Regions from separate parts of the Homo sapiens genome. Here region 2 is linked to region 1. Evidence: promoter capture Hi-C in human tissues and cell types (Jung and others, 2019). All regions are on one chromosome and are shown on one strand. The core of a region is centred on a gene start or on the middle of the fragment in contact, and the rest is flanking DNA. Distances in the headings are between cores, read along the strand shown. Region 1 has its middle 9.0 kb from the start of MAN1C1. Region 2 holds the start of TMEM50A (transmembrane protein 50A).

Evidence for each region. Contacts are between HindIII fragments. The study calls those that stand out against the background at their distance.
Region 2: the fragment with the promoter of TMEM50A here is called in contact with a fragment that was not itself captured in region 1 in 1 of the 25 tissues and cell types used here (dorsolateral prefrontal cortex).

The regions. Positions count from the first base shown.
Region 1 is chr1:25,606,243-25,609,374 of GRCh38, reverse strand. No RefSeq gene overlaps it. Among named protein-coding and RNA genes, the nearest start is that of MAN1C1, 9.0 kb to the left of the region's middle. The HindIII fragment of the contact is 7,929 bases long and covers 1-3,132 here.
Region 2 is chr1:25,336,870-25,339,678 of GRCh38, reverse strand. It overlaps TMEM50A (transmembrane protein 50A), which reads right to left and starts at 1,345. Exons shown (of 7, transcript NM_014313.4): 1 at 1,223-1,345. It also overlaps a transcript of RSRP1 not described here. RefSeq lists silencers at 1,396-1,515, 2,507-2,801. The HindIII fragment of the contact is 15,215 bases long and covers 1-2,809 here.

The sequences.
Region 1 (3,132 bases), core at 109-2,608:
TTAGCAGTGATGATAGTACTCAGTATGTTAAATGTTAGTGTTATTAAACGAAGTAAAGAATAGCAAGCTTAAGATTTGAGGTTGATATAGGAAAGAGAAGAAATATTGGGGTTTGAAGAAGAAGTCTCATGGGTTATCTTACTTGTTCCCAAGTCCCACTTCTGCCACTTGATTGGGTGACCTGGGGAGGTCACTCATCTGTCTTAGATCAGTTTCTTCATCTGCAAAGAGGCCCATAATACCTTAAATGAGATGACCCCCGGGCAAGCACTTTGTTAGTAATAAAGCCAAAAAGTCATATTCATTATAGCTGTGATCCCTTTTCAGAAAGAACTGTCAACATTCCACAAATATTTATTGTACCTCACACATGATATAAAAAAAAATTAAACATAACCTAATATTTAAAGTTTTAAATTAAAAATTCTAAACATACTATATTTCTTATTTTATTCCGTTCTACGTTTTAAAAATTATTCTATTCTATGTATTTTAAAGAAATAAAAAAGCTGCACGGAGCTAGTCATTTTGCCCTGTTCGCCAAATAGTTCCAGATCGCTGCCTTTGGGGCACTTGGTGAGATTGCCCCGCCCCCTTGTGGTTGAGTGGAGCCGTGTGACTAGCTGTGGCCAATAAGCTGTGAGCAGAAATGACAACTGTCACTTCGAGTCCCAAGCATTTAATTGAGGGTGCCATATCCTCTAGAGCTGCGACTGTCCCACTAGCAGGGCGACTGACAGTGATGAGATGGCAGCTGCACCCTCCGCCAGGGCCCCGGTGACCAGCAGAGCCTTCTGAGGATCCGCACTGGCTGCACCGGCATGGGGCTTAAATGAGAGATTAATGTGTGTGGTGTAGACTTCTGAGTTTTGGAGCCACTGAATTTTTAACTTTTCAAAAGTTTTTTTTTAAGGTAAAACTAATTTTAATAATATATTTTATTTAATCCCATACATCCAAAAGATTATCATTTCCATTTTTTTTTTTTTTTTTTTTTTTTTTTTTTTGGAGTCAGAGTCTCACTCTCACCCAGGCTGGAGTGCAGTGGTGCGATCTTGGCTCACTGCAGCCTCCGCCTCCCGGGTTCAAGCGATTCTCCTGCCTCAGCCTCCTGAGTAGCTGGGACTACAGGTGCACGCTGCCACGCCCGGCTAATTTTTTGTATTTTAGTAGAGATGGGGTTTCACCATATTGCCCAAGCTGGTCTCAAACTCCTGAGCTCAGACAATCCACCCGCCTCGGCCTCCCAAAGTGCTGGGATTACAGGCGTGTGCCACTGTGTCCAGCCAAATCTTTTTTTTTTTTTTTTTTTGGTAAATCCTTCGTGAGGCCAGGCGCAGTGGCTTATGCCTGTAATCCCAGCACTTTGGGAGGCCCAGGCAGGTAGATCACTTGAGGTCAGGAGCTCGAGACCAGCCTGGCCAACATGGAGAAACCCCATCTCTACTAAAAATACAAAAATTAGCCAGGCCTGGTAGCACAAACCTGTAGTCCCAGCTATGCGGGTGGCTGAGGCAGGAGAATCTCTTGAACCCAGGAGGCGGAAGTTGCAGTGAGCTGAGATCATGCCACTGCACTCCAGCCTGGGCAACAGAGCGAGACTCCATCTCAAAAAAAAAAAAATCCTTCATGAGAAAAGTTATATTCTTTTTTACATACCAAGTCTTACAATCTACAGTGGGTTTTACATTTATAGCCCATCGCAATTCAGGCGAGCCACATTTCCAGTGCACTGCAAGCCCCAGTGGCTTATGGCTGGTTCCTATGGACAGCTGTGCTGTCCAGCAACTTATCATCCCCTAAAACTGAAACTCTGTACTCATTAAACACTAACTCCGCATTCTTCCCATCGCCCAGCCCCTGGTAACCACTATTCTACTTTCTGTTTCTATGAATTTGACTACTTTAAGCACCTCATATAAGTGGAATCATACAGTATTTGTCTTTTTGTGACTGTCTCACTTCACTTAGCGCAGTGTCCTCACAGTTCATCCATTTGGTAGCATGTGACAGAACTTTCTTCCCATTTAAGGCTGAATAATATTCCATCGTGTGTATCTGCCACATTTTCCCTGTCCATTCATCCATCGATGCACACTTGGTTTGCTTCTATGTTTTCGTTATTGTGAATATGCTGCTATGAATATGAGTATGGGTATATAAATGTTGACTCGTTATGATATGTGTGTTGTTGTTGTTAAAATGGAATTGTACCATGCTCACTGCTTAGGCAGTCTGCTTTTTCTAATGTACCAATATGTCAGGAGCATTTCCATGAAATTAAATACTCTTCTACTTAATTGTTCTGAACAGCCAAATAGTACTTCTTATGTGGCTCTATGATTATTTATTTACCCAATCTGCTACCGTTAGACATTTAGGTCATTTCTAATTGTTAATTACATTTGACAAATAGTTTCTCCTTCTCATAATGCCTCATCTCTAACACAGCAGACAGTAGGAGGATACATTCAGATGGAAGACGGCGTGGTCACCCCAGGGCATCCACTGTCACCAGGGTTTTGCCACAGAAGACCCAATATCTTTGTAGCTGTGGAGGGCATAACCTTCTCTGGGCATTGCAAGGAGAGCTGTGCACAGCTGTGCAAAGAGTGTTGGAGTCACGGGGCCGTGAGCAGTTCTGGGTCCTGCCACATTCAAGCCCTCAGACATCCACTCTGAGCCTGTTTTCTTATTTGGAAAATGAGGATAATGATACTGGCCCCTTGGCATTTTTTTATTTTTTAAATTGACAAATACAACTTGTATACATTTATGGTGTACAGCACGATGTTTTGACATCTATGCACATTGTGGAATGGCTAAATCAAGCTAATTTATATATGCATTATCTCACCTATTTATGGAGAGAACACTTAAAGTCTCCTCTCAGCAGTTTTCAAGTATATAATACATAGCTATTAACTATAGACACCAGGTTGTACAATCGATCCTTGAACTTATTTTTCCTGTCTAAGTGAAATTTTGTATTCTTTGACCAACATCTTCCAATCCTCTCCCCTCCTCGCCCCTGATAACCACCATGCTGCTTTCTGCTTCTATGAGTTTGACTTTTTTAGATTTCAGTTTTCAGTGAAATCACACAGTATTTGTCTTTCTGTGTCTGGCTTA
Region 2 (2,809 bases), core at 96-2,595, 270 kb after region 1:
TAGTAGAGAGACAAGTGATAAACTTTGGCTCTGAGTGGAATTACAGATTCAAATGAAAAATATTTCTCTAATTTACATATTTTATCACAGAACGTGTGTTTCTTCACACCTAAATCAAGAAATTAAACACTGCACTGCAGTTCTTACCTCTACCCACATCATTTCCTTTCACTTCATTCATTATTTTTCTTTCTGCAAGCCTGCCTTTTGGTGTCATTTCTATATAAAGAACATCCACTTTAATATCCCTATCTCTGATCCTAACGGGTGTTTCCAGCCAAAAGCAAGCACAGAATCGTGGTTAATAGTAATTCAGATTACAAAAATCCAACTGCTATTTAAATATAGCCGACCCAAGCTGTCTTTACAAATTATATAAAACATTCCTGTAAGCCGAGCAGTAGAGACCTGAGATACAGCCATGTTATCTCTATTTCAGAGTATGAAAAAGCCTGAAATACATATAACTTGCGAATAACAACACCCAAACTCCTACAGCGAACTTGACTTCCTTAAGATACTTTGTAGCCAGCAATTATGGTTGTCCAAAAATATGACACCCTACAATAGAGCAACGTCTCCCATTTTTAACTTCTCTTTTAAAAATTAAATATTAAAATATATGATTACAGCCAATGCTAAGATGCCTTTGGGACAAGTTCAATTTAGGAAATTCACTCATTTGATTCTTCCCCGGGAAGAACTGCAATTCAATAAGTGTTATTTTCGGTTCATCCCAATGGCCCCACCCCGAATCCATTTTTCTTTGCACGACGACTGGTACGCTCAAGCCAGACCCCGCCCTCCAAACTCTGGGACTTTTAGGTCTCGAGGGACGCCGCTGGAAGATGGGGGAGCCACCTTTAGCCGGGGCACCCCTCGCTGAGGGAGCTGGCCGGGTCACGCTCCTTTCTCGGGGCTTCGGCTTGTCCAGCTGTGAAGTGGGGGATCGGGGGATTTTCCAGGGATCCTGGGGTGTCCCGGGGGAGGGCGCGGTCCCCTCTCCGTCTTGGCGGGGTCTGGACGCCGTCGCCTTCTCCTGGCGCCGCCGGACCCAGGAGAGGAGAGGTCCGCGGCGGCTCAGCCCGGGTCTGCGGCTTCCGGGAGGGTGGCGGCAACGAGCCTGTGCTGTGGGCACCAGCCCGTCAGACGGCCCCGGCTCCGAGGCCTCTCCAGCCTGCGGCCGCTACTCTCTTACCCCCACTCCCCGCCCGACACTTACGTCCAGCCCCGTCGTGCAGTGGTTCCGGAGCCCGGTGTCGCGCCGCGCCGGCCCGCCTCACTCCCCCGATTTTAGCCAAGAAAACAAAACGGCCACAGCCTCCAGACACCCGGATGCAGCAGTACCATCCACCCGGCTCAGTCGCGCATGCGGACACGGGGCGGAGGGCGGGGCGCCGGGTCCGGAGGGAGCCACGCCCACCACAACAACGCGTCTGCGCATGCCCGGGCGCTGGGTTCAGGGGCTTTCCGCCGCTCTGGGTTCACAGCTGGACGTCGGGAGTGCTAGTTTGGAGTACGCCATTTGAGAGTAGGCGTGAGAAGTTGCTCTGTGTGCTGAGCGTTCTAAAGGAAGGCGTCCGTTGGCCTTCGTACCCGTCTTGAGTGAGGTGACGAGTGTTTTCTAGTACTGGGGTCGGCCGCGCAGCCCTCTCAGGGGTGGGTGGCAGGAAGAGTGCCGGGTCCCGCGTGGTGCAAAAGGTGGGTTCAGGTTTGCGGCCACACAGCGCTACTCAGGACTTTTTAGTCTTGTTTATTTTCTCCGTGCCTGTTCCCGCCCCCCGCAGCTCCACCTCTGGGAGAGGGGCGGGTTCAGCTCCAGGAGGCGGGGACTTCCCGGCTTGGCGTGGCTGGGGTGTCCCGTGGACCCCAGTCTCGGCGCGGTGACCCACTTATGGGACTTGGCCTTTCTTTGTTGTTTGTTTAAGGCAGGGTTTCTCAGCCTGGGCACTACTGAGGTTTTGGGCCGGCTAATTCTGTCTGGGTTGGGGAGGGTGCTGTCCCGTGCTTCGCAGGTTGTGTAGCTGCATCCCCCGCCTCTACCCAGTGGATGCAAGTAGCAGCCCCAGTGAACCAAAAATGCCCCCAGACTTTGCCAAATATCCCCTCCCGGGGAAGATCGCCTCGCTTGAGAACCACTGTTGGAGGAGAGCCTGGGTTTTCGGGAGGTAACCGTTTACAAAGGGGAGAACGGTAAGAAGCCGGAAGCAACGATGACTTAGCTACGTGAAAGACTTGCGGCCGGGCTCGCCCCTCTTCTAGAAGCCGTCAGTTTGGGTCTCGCGTCTGGAATCACCGTCAAGGAGTCAGATCCAGCCCCGGAGAGGGAGCAGGGTCGAGGTCTCCTTGCAGAAGGCGCCACCGCAGGAAGCACAGGCGCAACGTGCGGTCTCCCTAGCGGAGGCGCTCGCGATCCTGCAGCCGCCGGTCCGGGAGGTGCTCGGTAGCCCTCCTTGGTGCCTGTCCGGTAGCTGGTCACTCTCGGGGGAAGGTCGTGTGCAGAAGGGCACATGCGATCACACAGAGACGGCGTTGCTGCGGCTTTGACCCGATGGTGCACCCGAAAGAACACAGAGGGTGAAGGGAGAGATCCAGGAAGTGGTCGCGGAGCAGAACCCCCCTTCACTTCAGTTAAAAAGGTGGGTCAATTGTCGTTAAGAGATACGCACAGGTTCATCTGATTGACATGTACGGCGGCAGTATATGAGTGGGATGGGAACCAAGGTGACTGTTGTTTCCTTTGATGGATGAAACTTTCATCCCTTTGGGTTTTTTTGTTTGTTTTTGGCGGTGCATTAGCCGATTAGTA